Linked DNA regions of Homo sapiens: all the other regions are linked to region 2. Evidence: promoter capture Hi-C in 16 types of primary human blood cells and fetal thymus (Javierre and others, 2016). All regions are on one chromosome and are shown on one strand. Each heading gives the region's core, a stretch centred on a gene start or on the middle of the fragment in contact. The rest is flanking DNA. Distances are from core to core; before and after follow the strand shown.

Evidence for each region. Contacts are between HindIII fragments. The CHiCAGO score rates a contact against its expected background, and 5 or more counts as called.
Region 1: a fragment that was not itself captured here is called in contact with the fragment with the promoter of FANCB in region 2 in 1 of 17 cell types (activated CD4 T cells); the score reaches 5.6 in activated CD4 T cells.
Region 3: a contact is called between a fragment that was not itself captured here and the fragment with the promoter of FANCB in region 2, in 1 of 17 cell types (M2 macrophages). The highest score is 5.4, in M2 macrophages.

The regions. Positions count from the first base shown.
Region 1 is chrX:15,142,537-15,145,236 of GRCh38, forward strand. No RefSeq gene overlaps it. Among named protein-coding and RNA genes, the nearest start is that of ASB9, 130 kb to the right of the region's middle. The HindIII fragment of the contact is 3,441 bases long and covers 1-2,700 here.
Region 2 is chrX:14,871,717-14,874,416 of GRCh38, forward strand. It overlaps FANCB (FA complementation group B), which reads right to left and starts at 1,353. Exons shown (of 10, transcript NM_001018113.3): 1 at 1,270-1,353. MOSPD2 (motile sperm domain containing 2) reads left to right here and starts at 1,705. Exons shown (of 15, transcript NM_152581.4): 1 at 1,705-1,821; 2 at 1,973-2,042. The coding sequence starts at 1,813. RefSeq lists a silencer at 1,443-1,672. The HindIII fragment of the contact is 4,870 bases long and covers 1-2,700 here.
Region 3 is chrX:15,246,206-15,248,905 of GRCh38, forward strand. It overlaps ASB9 (ankyrin repeat and SOCS box containing 9), which reads right to left. Exons shown (of 7, transcript NM_001031739.3): 6 at 2,539-2,700. Among named protein-coding and RNA genes, the nearest start is that of ASB9, 23 kb to the right of the region's middle. The HindIII fragment of the contact is 5,569 bases long and covers 1-2,700 here.

The sequences.
Region 1 (2,700 bases), core at 69-2,568, 270 kb after region 2:
TAATCAAATACGCCACACCAGTCACCTAGAGCCAAGTTGTTTTATGTGGGTGATTACACAACGACTCTTCAGTTCTTTCTGTTTCTCTTTCTTTCAGTAACTTCTTTGTGGCTCCAATTGAGATCTTCAGAGTGAGCCTTCACTATTTAATCTAGCAGCTGACCACAAACCATGTCACAGGCAGAAAAACAGAAGCATAAGGACTAACTCATCCTGAATTAATGAAAACTCTTGGAGGAAAGGGTTTTTGGTGTGTGTGTGTGTGTTTTTAAAGATCTTACAAGGAAAGCAAAACTTCAAATCAAAAGAAAGCTGTTGTCAGCTATGAAGGCAGCACTGGCAAAGTTCAGGAGACTAGCTGAACTCATTTTAAGCAATTCAATATAAAGGTGACTCCTTTCTGCCCTTTCTCACTTGGTTTCCCTCCTTCTGAATGAAAGTGTCCCTACTGTGACAGGTGAGGACAGAGCTCTTGAGTTGAAATATCTGCAAATGGTCTGTGTGACCTTGGATAATTGTTTTGACAAACATGAGACCACATCTTTGTATGGTATAAGTTCATAAAGACCTGTTTCAACATAAGCAAATAGAAGCCAAAATATAAGGAACGCATTGTATGTGCAGGGTTTGTATCATTGGAAGGTCAGACCATGAAGAGGTGGATTTGGCCTTTAGTTGCTGACTCCCACCCCAACACCAGCCCCATTCCCCAGCCTTCTCTAGGAAGCCAGCTCCCTACCACACTCTCCCCATTCTTGCTCTCAGTAATTTCTCCCCATTTTTAAAAAAACATAAATCTATACAATTTGTCCTTAATTGAAATGAGCCAGAGTCTCCCCCCTCACTGCCTTCTTATTCTGCATTTTCTTCTTTTTGTTTCCCACTTCCAACTCTCATTTAAAACAATCCTGGTAGTGGCGAGGTATAGTAGAGCACCAGTTCCGAAGCCTCAATCTGAATCTCATCTCGCCACCTAGTGGCCACGTAACCCTTGGCAACACACCTTTGGAATTGCACTTTTTCAGTTGAAGTGCGGTGATAAACAATTTTGCAAAGAGGAGTATTTTATAATAAAGTGAAATAATACATGTGGAATTGTTTTGAAAATTATCTATTACTAATGTGAAGTTATGATAACTAGTAAGTCCCCTTTTTATTGGGAGTTTGGGTTGGGATTTTCTCTTACTTGAAAATATAAGCACCACAAACACAGCTTCTAATTGATATTCTGTTTAATCTTCTGCCCCTTCCACCCCTTCATTCCATCTTCTGCCATCCAGGACTTAACTCAGATCAAGATTAACTCAGACCAAGATTCAGGAACAGAGCTAAGTCCTTAAGTGGCAAAGTCAAACCAGGAATTTGACTAACATGAAGAATTGGGAAGAACCACCTGGTGGCACTGAACCTCGTAGTAAATCCAAAGAAAAGGTAACTTTAAAGGATTCTGGAAGATGAAGCAACAGGCTGAGACAACAGGAATGGGAAAGAAAGTCTCAAACAGAGCTTTGCAGTGTGTCTGAGATCAGCCCCAAAGACCTTGTTTTCTTAAGGACATCTGACTGAAATGTATTTGGACTCAGCTGTGGATGTTCTGTAGAAGCAAGAAAAAAAAATGGTTTTTTTACTGAAGAAAAAGTACAATTCTGTAATCTTGTTCTGAATATGTTTTCTATCCTGAGATTCCTTGCCCATCAGGGAAATAGATTCTTGTACTTTGAACAGCTGCCTGAGAGTGGAATAGAAATTTTGTATAAAGCTGAGGCTCTGAGGAGACCTCAGGGACAGAGTTATATCCCCAAGGCTGTAGCTTTTATCAGTTTTTACCTCTTGTCTGGTGGTTACGGATGCAACTAGCTATGAATACAAAAGGCTTCTGTTTGGACATACTCCTAGCATTTTCTCATAGAAGAATTTTCCCCAAAAAATAATGGCGATAGTGCTGACCACTCAAAAAGTCAGAATCTATCCACTTCTGGCCCTAACCATTCAATCACAAGTCAAAGGGGCATGCATCTGAAGATCTCCTCATATCACTCATACAATGTTCCTTGATAATTTGGCACATGATCATTTTGGCCAAGTGAGTGGACTTGATTTTAAGGACACCAACACTACTGCCCGTTTCCATAGCCACGTACAAAGTGGCCCTGGTCTTCATGCAGTTATAAGCACTTTGAAGTCATCTAGGCATTTCCCTTCCAGTGGGCTAGTAGTCGGGAATTAATTTGGCTTGTGGTCCATATGTTGGGAATATGTAGTTAGGAGTTAAATTTTATTGTGATCAGGGGACTGTAGCAAGTCATTTGCAAAAGAATTGAATTGTCTATCTTTCTTGGACAGAAGTAGAAATGTTTTTAGATAAAAATATGATTATGATTTATTTGGATACAAATTTCATTCTTTCTCTCTCTCTCTCTCACCAAGATATCCTGTTTAGTGTTCTAGCAATAACTGTAGTGTGTAAGCTCCCCCCAAACATGTGAGCTGACGGACTCTAAATCTCTCAAAAGTATTAACTTATTGATCCTTAAACATCCACATCCCATGCTAATTTTAATTTGGTGTTATTTTAAATTAGCAATAAATTGACATATCTTTATACATATATATGCACAAAAAGGATAAATAGTATAACCAAATCAGCTAGTATTTTGCAGGCAATTTGTCTTGAGGCTGATGTTGGGATTAAGTTATAGC
Region 2 (2,700 bases), core at 103-2,602:
CAGCATATTATTTATGTAAAACAAATAAAACAGCATTATATATGTTCTATTTACCTACAATGACTACAGTCCCTGAGTGCTTTCTCAAGAAATAGTGCCATGTACTATTTTTTTTTTTTTTCCTGAAGAAACAGTGCCAGGTACTGCTCTAAGCACTTTGGATTAACTCGTTTCTTCCTCACAACATCCTTATGACATAGGCACTGTTACTATCCCATTTTATAGATGGAGAAACTGAGGCAAGGAGTTTCAGGATCTTCTCAAAGGCTTGCAGATAAGAAGTGACAGAGCCAGGATTCAAACCCAGGCAGTATGATCCAAAATAAAAAAATGTAAAACTGTAAACATTTCATGCCAAATTCTGAATGCTGTTGATTCTGGACAAGGAAGTGTCCAGGATAGGTGAGTAGAGGTAGAAGGAGACTTTAGTTATATCTGAAATATCTTTTAAGGATGTAGTCAAACAACGTTTAAACAATGTGTTCATTTTTTCCCATAAAAAATGTAAATATATTTAAAAGTCTAGGACAAAAGATGCTAACATGCCATTCTGTCATGGATGACTACGGTTGATGGAAATATGGGGGACTATTCTTACAACTTGTTTGTAGTTTTCAGTATCTTTCAACTTTAAAAAAGGCAATATTGTATGCGCAACTATTTTCTTTCAATTGTTTTTAACTGACGAATAAAATTTGTTCCAGTCCCTTTAAATCTAAATCTTTCTCAACCTTGACACTATTGACATTTTGGGCTGGATAACTGTTGTGAATTTTCATGTACACTGGAGGATGTTTGGCAGCTTCCCTGGTCTCTATCCACTAGTAGCCAGTGAGCATCTCTTTTGCCCCCGGCCCCTAGCAGTGGTGACTAAAAATGTCTCCAGAGGTTGCCAAAGGTCCCCTGGGTGGTAAAACCGCCCCCCCCACACACACCCCCCCACCCCCCCGGCTGAACACAACTACCTTAATAAGCCGAAACACGCTTTTTTTAACTTTATATAATTATTTGAGATTAAAGATTTCAGAGATATTTTGCTCATTAAGCATCTCACACTCCAAGTTGGAAGGATACTGAAGGGATGAAAAAAACTTCAAGCGAATGTAGCACTTAAAATCCAATTATCATTGCAAGGAATGACAGACCCAGGTCTCGGGATGCCCGCTTCCTTCCCTCTCTCCCGCAATGCGGGGACAAGGGGAGGAAATCCAGCCCCATCGCCCCCTCTGCGAAGTCCTGGGAAGGGAAGACTCGCCAGCCCCATCCTACCTCAACGCAGCGGCAACATACCGGAGGCCCCACGTCGATACGGTATCCATCTGCTCCAAACCTCCCGCCAGCGCGCTGCATCCTGGGAGGCCGGGCGGAGGCTGCGTCGAACGCAGAGGAGGCGGAGCCTAGAAGCCAGCCAGGAGAGGTGGCCAAGGGAGGCTGAGGAGGCGGGGCCCTGGGGAGTGTTGTGAAAGCAGAGAGCCCGCGAGCTCTCTAGGGCGGAGCTCCGCGGGGGAAGCGCCGGCGATCTCGCGGCTGGCGGGGGCGGGACCGCAGTGCGGGGGATGTCGCGGGGCGAGGCCAGACGAGAATCGAATGGGACCTAGGCTGAGGGCCTGGTCCCGCCTCCAGACCCAGGCGTCCGCATTGGATTGGGCGGTGCGGCGGCGCTTCTGTCCGCCTTCCGGTGTCACGCGACCGCCTCCCCCTCCCACCCTTCTCTGTCTACCTCTGGGCGGGACTGCCGGGTGATGAGATACTCGGTCGGCGACGGTAGAACGGGCGACGGCGACAACCGCAATCACATCCACGACGGTGATCATGGCAGAGGTGAGGAGCCTATTGCACCGCCGCTGGCCCCCCGGACCCGGAAGCCGCCTCTGAGGCCCGGGGACCGAGCGCCCGTGTGCAGGTGGGCTGGGTTGAGGGTAAGCGGGTTGATGCAAGTAGTATCTAAGGTCCCATCGTGTCTCCCATCCAGAATCACGCCCAGAATAAAGCCAAGCTCATCTCTGAGACCCGGAGGAGGTTCGAAGCTGAGTATGTGACAGGTGGGTACTCTGTTCCAGGTATTAAGAAAGGTGTGCAGTGAGCATCCCCAACTTTGCTGGAGTGTTTGTGAGTGTATTTGTGGGAGGTGTTAGGGACCCTTTCGACCCTCACAGGAATGATGCTGGGCACGTCTCAAAGGTTTTCCTCTCCATGACAAGCCGTGTGCACTGCTTCAAATGGTCAAGTGGTGTGTCCCATGCTCCCTTTAAAGGGTTAATGTAAGTTGGAAATCGGTTAAGTTTTTAGCATGCCCTCGTGTTTATGGAACTTGCAGGATACTTGTTAGGCCCACAACACGGGTGACATTGTCCAGTCCACGGTTCCACTGCTGGCCTTTCACCAGCAACACTAGCGAAAATGTACCTGGAAACTGCCATAATACTATTGATGTGTACTTAATTGGGTATACAAATTCCTTGGATATTTTGTTTGATTTGGCTTTCATACAACCCAGCATGCTACCCACAAAATAGGCCCTCCAATGCTGGAACAAGTTCTTATCCCAAACTGTATCTTGCAAAGTACCTATGAGTCCAGAATTGATTTATTGGTTGAACATTCTGTGTCCAGATGTCACAGATACTTGAGTTGTCAGGTACTTAACTGAATATTTAATGCTTGTACAGTAATTTTGTAAAACATACGGAATAACTTATT
Region 3 (2,700 bases), core at 201-2,700, 370 kb after region 2:
ATGTCACAGGAAACTCAGTGTATTAATAACTACTGATGCCAACTGAATGCTGCTGTTTACTACAAGTAAGACAATGTAAAACAACTGTAGCTTCAAGTCCATAGACACAGAGCTGAAAACCCACTACAGATTTGCAGTCACTTGCTGGCACCTGCAAATATTCAAGGGGTTTGCTTTGCTCGGTAATAAAACCAGCTAATTGTGTATTTATGAATTGGCATATTCCTTTGGGCCTTGATTTCTTTTTTCCCCCAGCAACAACCATTGATGTTTTGTTTTTTGTTTTTTGAGACTGAGTCTCACTCTGTCGCCCAGGCTGGAGTGCAGTGGTGTGATCTCAGCTCACTGCAAGCTCCACTTCCCAGGTTCACACCATTCTCCTGCCTCAGCCTCCCGAGTACCTGGGACTACAGGTGCCTGCCACCACGCCCGGCTAATTTTTTTTGTATTTTTAGAAGAGACGGGGTTTCACCGTGTTAGCCAGGATGGTCTCTATCTCCTGAACTCATGATCCACCCACCTTGGCCTCCCAAAGTGTGGAGATTACAGGCGTGAGCCACCGTGCCCGGCCAGCAACAACCATTGATGTTTTAAAGCCAAAGTGCACTGGGTGAGGGGGGATGGGGGCTGCGGTCATGTTGGGCTGACAGTCATTTCTAGGTTTTAATTGAGCAAACACTGCTTTAGATGCTTATCAAGGGTGAGGTGGCAATATTCTTAAAATCTTTTCCCTTTTCTCAGAAAACGGGAAAATCTTACCTTTCCTAACACCCACGCAAAGCCCAATTCAGAACATGGTTGGGTTTTACCAACATTCTCCTGTTGCCATACCATTGAAAGAGGACAGTAATTGAATAAATTCCCTTCCCCAGGAAACGGAGAAACAGGTGGACTGAAGCAAATGAATGTAGGGGCACCCAGAGACAGAAACTGCTGTGAGCAATCCACAGGTCTAGTTTTCTGCACTTTCCTGACCCCATTTCTTGTGGGCTCCGAGCCCTCTGAGAGGTGACTACACCAAAACCCCAAAATTGACTCATGGAGGCAAAACAAGTAGTGATTCTCTCCAGCAGCAAATGACACCTCATAAACTAGTGGGACCATAGGCCACACTGTCACCGTGCAAAACGTAAATTCAAAATTAAAGTAATTACTGTCTCTAGGAATGGCTTTGGGAAATAAAGCAGAAGGGAAAAGCCAGGGGAGGCAATTTGAGAATGCTATGAGGTTGTTTGATGGAGGAGGGGACATATACATCCTACATTAACGTATGCCCTACGTTATGACTGAGGGGGACCTGAGGCACTTTTGCCTTTATGAATCCCTTTCTCAGTGAAAACAATTAAAAATTCTATTTCACAACTGTGTTGGTATAAAGATGATTACAATCCATGTTGTTCTATTCATTTTTTATTCTGATTGTTTAAAAATTAAGATATTTTTATGGGCCTCGTAGACATAGAACTTTTTCAAAACAAGTAATTATTAAAATGCAGATAGAACTGCTCCATGATTATCCCACTGCTTAACTGTAAGGGGCCTCTACTGGACTGTTCCTTGTCCAGGCCTGGAGTCAATCTTTTCTGCCTGACCAGCACTGCTCAGGAGCATAGGCCTTGTTTGGCATGCCCCCAGGCAGGGACTTGACTGCAAGTACCCTGGGGCAGTGAGAGTAGGAGGAAGAAGGATTCCTTAGCCCACTTTACAGTTCTGCCCAAAGCCAACCTTACTGCTCATCATGTGGGGAGAAAATAACTAGATTGTATAACATCAGAATCCTTCTGGTAGGAAGGCCTGCTTCAAAGTCCCAGAATCCCTAAGACTTCAGAGTCCATACTCCGGTAAGAAAAGAAGTACTGAGCTGGTTTCTCAACTGCCTCTGAGCCCATGAAGATTGCAAGAGGTGGCTCCCCAACTTGAGGTGTCTTTGTTCCCCAGCCCAGCCCAGGCCTCAAAGCCCTACTTCCATACACACTGCTCAACCACAATATTTCATTGTTCGAGTTGGGAGTCTCAGTTCTTACTTATAGAGAAGTGTGGACTTATCATTGGTTAATTTATAATAGTAAATATCTTTGGATTGGTGTGAACCCTAAACTCTTAAACAGCTGCATTTTAAGCCCAGAAACGAAGTGTCCAGTAGTCTGGCCCATCTGTGGTTCAACAAGATATCCTGCGGCCTCTTACAACCCCAAAGAGGACTCTGCTGCCTCATTCTAAAGCATGTTTTAAATAAATGTAATACTAAAATTTTAAAACAGTATCTTAATTTTTAAAAAACTGGCCTACCCCATAATGAATATTAGATCATCCCAAAAACCTGTATCCAATATGCTAAATAGCAGGACAGTTATTTACTGTACTGTGACCAGTACTGTATCTCATTGAATATTGAATTATCTCAACTTCCCAGATTTGGTGATGTCAGAGAATGATCTTTTTATAGGAATGGGAGCCAGAAATTGCCAAATACCTGCCTTCTACTAGAGCCCCAAGGGATGTCAACAGATTAGGGCTTAGGTTTTGGCAAAGAAGCACCTTCTCTCTCCAAGAAGAGCTGGGCCAAGGGGCTCTCTGGAGGCACCAGCTCCACAGGACGTTTGCCTTCAGCATTCTTGGCCTGGGTGTCCGCTCCAAAATCCATGAGCAGGCAGGCCAGCTCTTCACTGGCTGTCCTGGCCACTGCATGAAGTGGGGAAT